Regions from separate parts of the Homo sapiens genome. Here regions 1 and 2 are each linked to region 3. The links are contacts of gene promoters, found by promoter capture Hi-C in human tissues and cell types (Jung and others, 2019). All regions are on one chromosome and are shown on one strand. Each heading gives the region's core, a stretch centred on a gene start or on the middle of the fragment in contact. The rest is flanking DNA. Distances are from core to core; before and after follow the strand shown.

Evidence for each region. The method cuts DNA at HindIII sites, captures the fragments that hold promoters and counts their contacts. A contact is called where the count stands out against the background at its distance.
Region 1: a fragment that was not itself captured here is called in contact with the fragment with the promoter of MAFB in region 3 in 1 of the 25 tissues and cell types used here (lymphoblastoid cells).
Region 2: a fragment that was not itself captured here is called in contact with the fragment with the promoter of MAFB in region 3 in 1 of the 25 tissues and cell types used here (dorsolateral prefrontal cortex).

Annotation. Positions count from the first base shown.
Region 1 is chr20:39,700,745-39,703,919 of GRCh38, reverse strand. No RefSeq gene overlaps it. Among named protein-coding and RNA genes, the nearest start is that of LINC01370, 300 kb to the left of the region's middle. The HindIII fragment of the contact is 4,850 bases long and covers 1-3,175 here.
Region 2 is chr20:39,752,427-39,755,672 of GRCh38, reverse strand. No RefSeq gene overlaps it. Among named protein-coding and RNA genes, the nearest start is that of LINC01370, 250 kb to the left of the region's middle. The HindIII fragment of the contact is 7,038 bases long and covers 1-3,246 here.
Region 3 is chr20:40,687,741-40,691,221 of GRCh38, reverse strand. MAFB (MAF bZIP transcription factor B) reads left to right here and starts at 1,986. Exons shown (of 1, transcript NM_005461.5): 1 at 1,986-3,481. The coding sequence starts at 2,372. The coding sequence ends at 3,343. RefSeq lists enhancers at 1-795, 796-1,773 and silencers at 1,724-2,033, 2,054-2,123. The HindIII fragment of the contact is 9,965 bases long and covers 1-3,481 here.

The sequences.
Region 1 (3,175 bases), core at 421-2,920, 990 kb after region 3:
GTCTTTCGGTACCTACCTTTAATAGCATATAATATAGTAACTGTAATATGTTGTTTGGGGGAACAGTGTTTATAGATTTGTTTCCTTACCCTAGACCATGAGCTTCATGAGAGCAACTGTATATTATTTGAAACATGCTTACTCTATGAATGGATCAAGTGTTCTCCACAATTTGATTTTTTTTTTTAACATACAGGGTCTCACTCTATTACCCAGGCTAGACTACGGTGGCCCAATCATAGCTCACTGTAACCTCAAACTCCTGGGCTCAAATGATCCTCCCACTTCAGCCTCCCAAGTAACTAGGACTATAGGCTCACACCACCATGCCTGGCTAATTTTTATTTATTTATTTATTTATTTATTTATTTATTTATTTATTTATTTTGTAGAGATAGGGTCTCTACGAAATATTTCCCAGTCTGGTATTTAACTCCTGACCTCAAGCAATCTTCCCACCTCAGCCTCCAGAAGTGCTGGGATTATAGGCATGAGCCACAGTGCCTGGCCCAACTTGGATTTTTTAATAACGTGTCCTGAACTAGGGAGTAATTCACTTTTCTTCTATTTATGATCCATTTTCTAAAATATTGATCAAAGAACCATGGAAATATTTAACCTATTTTAAAAATACCTTTCCAAGGCAAGAAAGTAAAATGTAAATATGTGAGTAATTTCTCCTAAGGTGCACAATATTCACTTTATTACTAAAGTAGAAAGTTGTAACAATGGGTTTGTGTTACCATATGCAAACTAAGTAAAATTTTATGTCATACTTGTCACAAATTCAGACTGTTTTCTCCCCATGTGAATTTATATTATTTCATTCCCTCCCCATCCCCTCCTCCCCCCCTTCCCTGCCCTCTCCTCTCCTCCTCTCCCCTACCCTCCCTTCCCCTTCCTTTTTCTTCCCTTCCTTTCCTCTCTCTCCTGCCATCTCACACAATAAATGTTAGCTGCCTACTTCCTCCTTCACCACGCTTTGTTGGGTAATACAGACCCATGCTGCTGAAGGTTAATGTGCATGCAAATCACCATCACTGGTGATCTGATTAAACTGCAGAGTCTGATTCAGCAGAGGGATTCTGCAATTCCAACAAGCTCCCAGGTGAGGTGAACTACACTTTAAGTAACAAGAATATAAAGGATGGAGAATGAAGCAAGCAGAGACTCTGCTCTCAACAAGATGACCATATAGTTCAGACCTTACATTGCCTCCCTGACAAAAAAATTCCCTTCATGTCCCCCAGGACTGTCTCCTCTTGAACAAATTTCCCACTCTTAATTGAAGTAGATAAATATGTGAGAGGATGGGTGTGGGACTCAAAAGAGGAGGGCGGGCATCCTTAGCTCCTGGAAATGAAGATTTGAATAGAGAACCCAGGCCAGACCAATGATCTCATAATATTGATGCTACTTTTACCAACAAGCTGAACAAATTATTAATGTGCAGACTTTAATTTTAAGATGTCCAAGAAATAGTTAAGGAAGCCTCATTTGCATGGTTTGACAATAAATTGAGGGGAGAGAAAACTAAGAGATAGAGTGTCTTTCCAGGAATGCAGCCAGAGGCCAAGGGGCTGGAGACTCCTTCCTACAGTCATCAAACTGGGTGCCACAAGAAGTTAGCAGTTTCTTGAAGAGACTGTTCGGTAGAAAGGTGATACAGTCTTAATGGCTAACCATGATTGCTCTCTGGGAGTACCAGACAAGACAGGATGGATTTGGGGGAACTCTGCAATTTCCTTCAAATTCATTGCAGTGTTGCACCAGCATACAGCCAGGGAACAAAAAAGCTCAGGAAATGGACTTGCAGCCATCCAGCCTGCTCTCTCTGCTTCAGAAGCTGAGATTTGCATGAAAGAACAAATCAAATGAAAGAACAAATGCAGCAGGTGAGAACTTTCATTCTTTTCACCTACTGCACGGCAGGTGGATGATCTACCTGGGCCATTGTCCAAGAGGTTTTTTGTTTGTTAGTTTGTTTCCTAATTGCATCACCCAGATTATTAGCTAGTTGTTCCTTCCAAATTCATGTCATCCTTCGATCACTTTTTCCTGCATTCATTTTCACATCACATTATTCAGCAAGTATTTTTACTGATCATCTACTATGTACCAGAGACATTGTATATGTTTTCCCAGAAATTAGTCAAAATAAAGCAAATAATAAGACAGACCTTAGGATAGAGCTGCTCTCACTTTCAGCTGAGGTTGATTAGTTTATAACATTCCTTGACTGCTGTTAGCTAAAAGTCCTTCCAACTTCAATACTATCTAGAACGTATACCTCCATCTTGTCCACAAGAATATCATGATATCACATTTCAAGCCCCCAATTAATTTGAGGAACACCATTTATATTTCTTCTTTAGCTACCAACCTAAAGACCCTTTAAAAAAAACAACACTGGTAGTCTAACTTAATTCCTGATTTATTTCTGCAAGTGCATGCTGGTTCCTGATGAGTACAGCATTCACAGGTAAAGGCTCACCAATTATCTCTTTAACAATCCATTCTCAATGGTGCTTCAGAGCAAGTAAAATTATTACTGCAAAATGTGATAATCCCTCTTGATTCACCTGTAGAGAATATGACTATCTATGACTTCACCAGTAGAGAATATGACTATAAAATAGTGATTCCTCATTCACTATTCCTCAGAACCACTCATATACATTTAGCGTATTTTCCTCACCACTTATACATACCATTTAAAACTGAGTTTGTCAGTTTCCCAAGCAGCTATGTTAGACATTTGTAGCACCTTACTTTTTTCTTATTTATCACAGTATTATGTATTTATCTGGTTTTTAGCCTTAAAAATCGATATTACAAGAGTGATCATTTTCCTATGCCTACATGCACACAGAAGAATCCCTACCCAAAAAATATTAATGGTGGTTACCTCTGGGAAGCAAGATTCATAGTGTAGAGGTAGAGGGATTCTCTTCCTTTTTATTTCGTGATTTTTATTATTACTTAATATTTTTATTGTATACATCTAATCTTTATACAAAACAAACCTAATTTCTTTAAAAAATACATATTCTACTGAATATGACAGATGTGAACCAATAATGATAAACCCTGGTGAGAGGTATTCTTATCTGTCCCTTCAAGACTCATGTCACATCCACTTACAAAGGAAGTGACAGAACCACAGAAAAGACCC
Region 2 (3,246 bases), core at 133-2,632, 930 kb after region 3:
AAGGTCCAAACCCAGGGGGGAAGCCTCCCATGTGTTTTCAGGTGGACAAGACTCATCACAGTTGACCTGTGCTCCTGTCTTCTTGGTCTAGCCTTTTCCAAGTTCAGGCTCATTAAACTCTAATTTACTCCCTTGTCTTTGCTCCAGTTACATCCTCTTTGGGAATTCAGGCTTCAGATAGACAACTCGATGTACATTGGCATTTTTTTAGTCACATCGGTTTCCTTTTTTTTTTTTCCTTCAACAAACTTTTTTTTTTTAAATTCCATTTCCTAAGGAATTGTAGATACCTCAGACAAAAAAAGAAGCTTAAAATATCCATTTGGTATATAATTTTTGTCCTTTTGTTTCCACAGACACTCTATTACAGTCCTCATCTTACAGAAGAGTAAGGTGATTATCACAAAAATGATATGACTTGCCCAAGGTCTCATGGTATGTCAGAAGCAGTTCTGGTATTAGAACTATGATCAATCTGAAACAAAGCCTTTGTTCTTTCCATTTTATCAATAATATTGGAGTTCCACTTCACCCCAAGTCCTTTTGTAACTATGTCACTTTGAGAGAACTGAGAGTGAAGAAAGGGCACAACTGTCTCTTTGGCAAATCCCATTTCCATTAGAATTTAATTTAGATTCAATAAAATGCTTAATGACTCTTAATTAAACCCAAATTGAAATTAAAAAATGGTTTAACAAGGTTTAATAATGATGTGAGAGATCACACAATTCCACTTCAATAAATATTTTCCTAATAACAAATAACCATTTCATTAGTGAGGAAAAATGTTGCCATTAAGCCTAAATTAAATTAAATTATCCATAATTTACTGGCATAGTTAACAGTATACGTTAATGAAAAATATGGGAAGTACTCCCCACCACCCGCTTGTTAAAAATTACTCCATTTTAGAAAATTTAAAAAGACATTGTATGTAATGTAATGGGCAGAAGGTCTGAAGCCAATGGAGCCATCTCTGAGATTCTGTTGTACCTAATAACAGAGAAGATGAGGCAGGGGGAAGGGGAGACACAGGGCTTTCCACTAAGGCCATGTGAATTTCTACCACCGTCACAGCCATAAAATGGGGTATTGATAGGGGTGGATGATGACATTGTGAATCTAGGGAATTTCTGGCTCAAAAAAAAAGGGTGGGTAGAAATTTCAGGCTCCTGTATTTTGAGCAATATCTGATCTAATACAAAGACATTGAAGATGCAGGATACGAGAGAGAAGATAACACATGCTTTCTTGTTATTAGTGTGTGTTTGTATTCTTTATTTTTAAAAAATTTCTTCATGGCTGAGCTTGAAGAGGAAAGAGATAGTTGTAGCCAGTTCCAGAAAAAGATACAGGTTTCCGGAATGGGATCAGGTTCCAGAGAGAGAGACACATTTCCAGCAAAGGGGCTCAGATTTTAGGAAAGGAAAACAGGTTTCAGAATAGGGCCCTAGTTTGGTTCCCCTCCAGAACACTGGAGTGGGAGGACAGAGAAAGACATGTGAGCTGAACCATGTAACTTTTGCAGCAATTAAGGGTTATCAGAGATTCACATTCTCAACCAACGTTTCTCCAATCCAGAAAGTATCCTGGATTCCAAAGACTCCTTATTCTAAACTTTGAAGAATAGAAAATAGAAAATATCCTCCATTCCTCCATTGTCCAAAGGATATTAACAAGACTTAAACTGACTAAAACTGCAATTTTGAGCCACATGGGACTATTGAGTCCATGAAATGTGGCTACTCCTAACTTAGATGTGCTATGAGAGTAAAATATATACTGAATTTCAAAGGCTTTTAAAAATGCAAATATCTCATTGGTATTTATTTTATATTCATTATTCTGAAATAATGACGCTTTGGACATATTGATTATATAAAAATATTTTTAAAATTAATTTATTCTATTTCTTTTTATTTTCCTCAATGTGGTTACTAGAAAATTTAAAATTACTTATGTGACTTGCATTATATGTCTATTAAATAGAGCTGATCTAGATGGGCCCACCTTAAATAAAGAAATGAACAGATTTCATTCCTTTTTGTGTTAGCATTAACACTCATTCTTTCATGCATCCATTCATTCATTCAATAACTATGTTTGAGTATCCATTAGCACAGACCCTATGTGAGATACTAGAGATATAGTGGTGAAAATAGTCTTGTGTATGAAAATGGTCTTGTCTATCCTAAGCACATTCACACACACACATATTCACACATGCACACATCACACACATGCCTACACAGTGGCACCTGTTCCTGTACATGCAAGTGTGCATATATGGACACAGAAGGACCTACAACACATGAACATGTATACATATGCAAAAATGTGCCAGTGCAGAAAGACATGAATTGAAAGCCAAAATCAGGGTCTAGGATCCAAACACTCCTGAATGTAGTAGACTTCAATTCTTCAGTTAGGTTTAACAATTATAGTTGCCAGCCAGTGACAGTCGCAACTCTTTATTTCCAGGAAGACAATCAGATAATAAAAATGTGGTCATGGTCTCTTTCCATGATTTTGTCAAGGTAGTAGATACAAGATTCCAAGTGAGAAGAATAAATGTGACAAATTCAGATCAATGTATTCATGACTAAACAAACCAGGAAAAGCCAGCAGGGGTAGGCTGGTGGTAGGTCTGTTCCATGGAGGCTCGTCTTCTTAGGCCTTAACTTCCTAGCGACTGAGAAGAGCTCACTCTGAGAGCTGAGAACAGAGACAGCTCAGTTTAGCCCAGAAACAGTGACTGAGATAATGCTGGAATCCTTTATATGATCTCATTCAAATCACTTTCTGCTTTACCACTCAGATTGTTGGCCTAGGGAGTGGGGAGAATGAATGGAGTATATTGGACAGGTATAATCAGGAGTCAGAAAGAACTGCATGTATTCTTTTAACAGAAAATTTAATATAAAGAGCTGTGTTGAGGAACTGAAATGACAAAGATAACACCCTGTGGTATCCAAAAGTAGCACCTGTAGTAAATAGCTACCACCCCACAGCTGTGTGAACAAACGAAAGAGATTTTAATTATGAATACTTAGACCCTTACAGAAGGGACACCTTGGAGCTGAGGCTCAAACAACTGAGGAGGGGTCTAAACTGGCCCATGCTGATTGGGGGACGGGGGTTATGGCACTAGTTCTGTAAGTGTCATTTTAAAAAACCCAGCTGGATTCAGCTGCTGAGACAGGAAAGAACTACTACTGTTAGGGTGAGTACTGTTAGCCGTTGCTT
Region 3 (3,481 bases), core at 737-3,236:
TTACAAGGTGCGAGTCCCCAACCCCCAGCTACTGGCAGGGGCTGCGCAGCGGCACCGCCCAGGCTCTCTCTCCAGGCGGCCGACTCATTTCTGCGGAGAGCACGCTTCTCGAAGAGGGTTGTAGACGCGCTCTTCCAGCATTTAATTTGCCACCCCACAAGATTGAGTTAAGTTTTAGTTAAAATACACTCATTTTATTAAAAATAGGCGGCCCAATACCACGCCGTACCCCAGCCTCTCCGAGGGCGCAAGAGAATAGAGAGTTTTCAGATTAATTGGAGGCAAATATTTTACCTTCTAACATTTAAAAATAATCTAGGCGCGTCTGCACCGGTGTGGCTCACGCGACCCCTACGCGCGAGGTCAGTCGGGCTGGTCCAGCGCAGACAGCGGCCGGGACTCACTCACCCAGTGCGCGCCTCTCCTGCCTTTCGCTGCGCGCGCCCAAAGCTAGAAAGAAGAAGGTGACGCGGGAGGCGGGTCGGGTCTCCGGGTCCAGCGAATTCGCGATCTATCCGGTTTCGGCGCCTGAGCCGAGGTCTCAGAAAGAACCCGTTAATTCTAGCCATCCTGGATCTGGGTAGGGAGGGTGCGCGGCTCCCAAGCCCAGTCTGGATGCCTAGTGCGGTGTGCTTCGGTCTCCCCGTCTGCCCTCCGGGGAGGTTTCTCACCCGGTGGCCCTGGGCCGCTTCACTGTGGCGCTTCCACTTTTGGCTACCGGCCTTCCTCCGCCCAGGACCTTCCGGCCCAGGGAGCAGCCGACGGGCACCCCCGAACGCTGGGGCACGGAATTTCAACGGGGCGACCAGAGCGGAGCTCGCGGCTCGAGGCTCGCGGCTGAGTACGAAGACGGGACCCGAGGACCTGTACATCGCTCGAGGGGAACCTGTCCTGGGCTCTGGTGCACACATAGTATGCGTTCTGGGCTGGCTTGGGTTGGGCCAGGTAGGGGAGACCTGGCTGGGTACGAGGCGCCGTCCAAGCCTTCCGGCCGTGGGCCGGGCGGTCGCGGCGCCTTTGCGCACAGTGGCCACTTGGGGTCGCACTTTATGCCTGTTTGAGCCTCTCCGCGGCGGGCTGACGCCGGGATCTGCTTAATCGTTACAAAACGTTCAAACAAAAACAGGGCCGGCTCCCCAGCAGTGGAGAGCTACTCGGAGCACCGTCCCGGGCCGGCCTCGGCCCCGAGGCTCCGGGGGCTCAGGATTCCGTGCGTGTGGCGGGGAAGAGGAATTCAGAGCCTTTGGGCTGCTGCTTTTCCCGTCGCCTTCACTGTGAACATTGTGCGGTGGGGTGAACGCGGGGAGCGGCGGGGCCAGTGGAGTCGAACCTCAGGGCTCTGCGACTGCACCCGCCAGGAGGGGCCCTCGCTTGGCCTGAGAAAGGTCCCCTGAGGTTAAGAGTTGGGTCTGAACACAACTCTCGGAGCCTCGAGCCCGCCCTCCCCAACATACAAATACGCGCAGATCTCCAGAAACAGGAACGCACGACACACACGGCCAGAAGCCGCGAGGACACACAGAGCGTCGCCCACTGGGCGGGGGCCGCTTGGGAACAAAGGGCCCAGGAGGCGTTGTCCCGGCGCTCATTCTGAGCCTCCTTGGGGGTGACACGGGATGGGGGTGGGGTGCAAAGGGAACTGAGGGAGGAGAGTGCGCGAGGAGGGGAAAGCGGTGATTTGGCCTAGAGGTGGGGCGCGCACTCCAGGCGAGCGTGCGTGGGCCGGGACCTGCAGGGTACGGGGGTGGGCCCAGGCTGGCCGTCCCACTCCGCTCCAGCGCTCCGCCAGGCCTCCGCCGCTCCGGGGCCGCTCGGGCCGCCAGTCAGCTGACGCGGGGGGCGGGGGAGCTGTCAGGCGCGCCCCGCCCTGCGCCGCTGGGCCGCGGAGGCCGTGCAGCTATTGGCCCGCGCACCGGGCCGCCCGGGCCCCCGCACCCCAGTGACATCAGGAGGCGATAAAAGGCTGCGGCGCCGCCGGATCCAGCACAGCTGCACCGCCGAGCTGCGAGCGGCTGCGAGCGAGAGAGCGTAAGAGCAAGAGAGCTAGAGAGCGAGCAACGGGCACTCGCCCCACGCCTCCCCTCAGCCCCACCGCGCGCTCCGCTTGCCTCTCCACCCCGCCCGACTCTACCCGGCCCGGTCCCTGCGCGGGCACAGCCCAGAGCTCTGGGGCGGTGCAGGCAGCCTCGGGACTCTCCGGCGCGCCGCCGCGTCCCCAGACAAAGGCTTGGCCGGCGGCCCCGGCCCGCTGCGCCCTCGCTCCCCGCCTCCCCAGCTCTTCTCCGCTCTTCCCCCCCGCGCTTGGCTCGGCGCGCTCCGGCCGGCCGCAAAGTTTCCCGGGCGGCAGCGGCGGCTGCGCCTCGCTTCAGCGATGGCCGCGGAGCTGAGCATGGGGCCAGAGCTGCCCACCAGCCCGCTGGCCATGGAGTATGTCAACGACTTCGACCTGCTCAAGTTCGACGTGAAGAAGGAGCCACTGGGGCGCGCGGAGCGTCCGGGCAGGCCCTGCACACGCCTGCAGCCAGCCGGCTCGGTGTCCTCCACACCGCTCAGCACTCCGTGTAGCTCCGTGCCCTCGTCGCCCAGCTTCAGCCCGACCGAACAGAAGACACACCTCGAGGATCTGTACTGGATGGCGAGCAACTACCAGCAGATGAACCCCGAGGCGCTCAACCTGACGCCCGAGGACGCGGTGGAAGCGCTCATCGGCTCGCACCCAGTGCCACAGCCGCTGCAAAGCTTCGACAGCTTTCGCGGCGCTCACCACCACCACCATCACCACCACCCTCACCCGCACCACGCGTACCCGGGCGCCGGCGTGGCCCACGACGAGCTGGGCCCGCACGCTCACCCGCACCATCACCATCATCACCAAGCGTCGCCGCCGCCGTCCAGCGCCGCTAGCCCGGCGCAACAGCTGCCCACTAGCCACCCCGGGCCCGGGCCGCACGCGACGGCCTCGGCGACGGCGGCGGGCGGCAACGGCAGCGTGGAGGACCGCTTCTCCGACGACCAGCTCGTGTCCATGTCCGTGCGCGAGCTGAACCGCCACCTGCGGGGCTTCACCAAGGACGAGGTGATCCGCCTGAAGCAGAAGCGGCGGACCCTGAAGAACCGGGGCTACGCCCAGTCTTGCAGGTATAAACGCGTCCAGCAGAAGCACCACCTGGAGAATGAGAAGACGCAGCTCATTCAGCAGGTGGAGCAGCTTAAGCAGGAGGTGTCCCGGCTGGCCCGCGAGAGAGACGCCTACAAGGTCAAGTGCGAGAAACTCGCCAACTCCGGCTTCAGGGAGGCGGGCTCCACCAGCGACAGCCCCTCCTCTCCCGAGTTCTTTCTGTGAGTCGTGGCCGGTCCTGGCCCCCGCCCTTGCCCCGGCCCGGACTCCCTGTCCCACGTCCCTAGTCCCAGACTACCCCGGACCCTGTCCCTGCCGCGGCCCCAGCCTTGACCTGTTTGACTTGAGCGAGAGGGAGGAAGG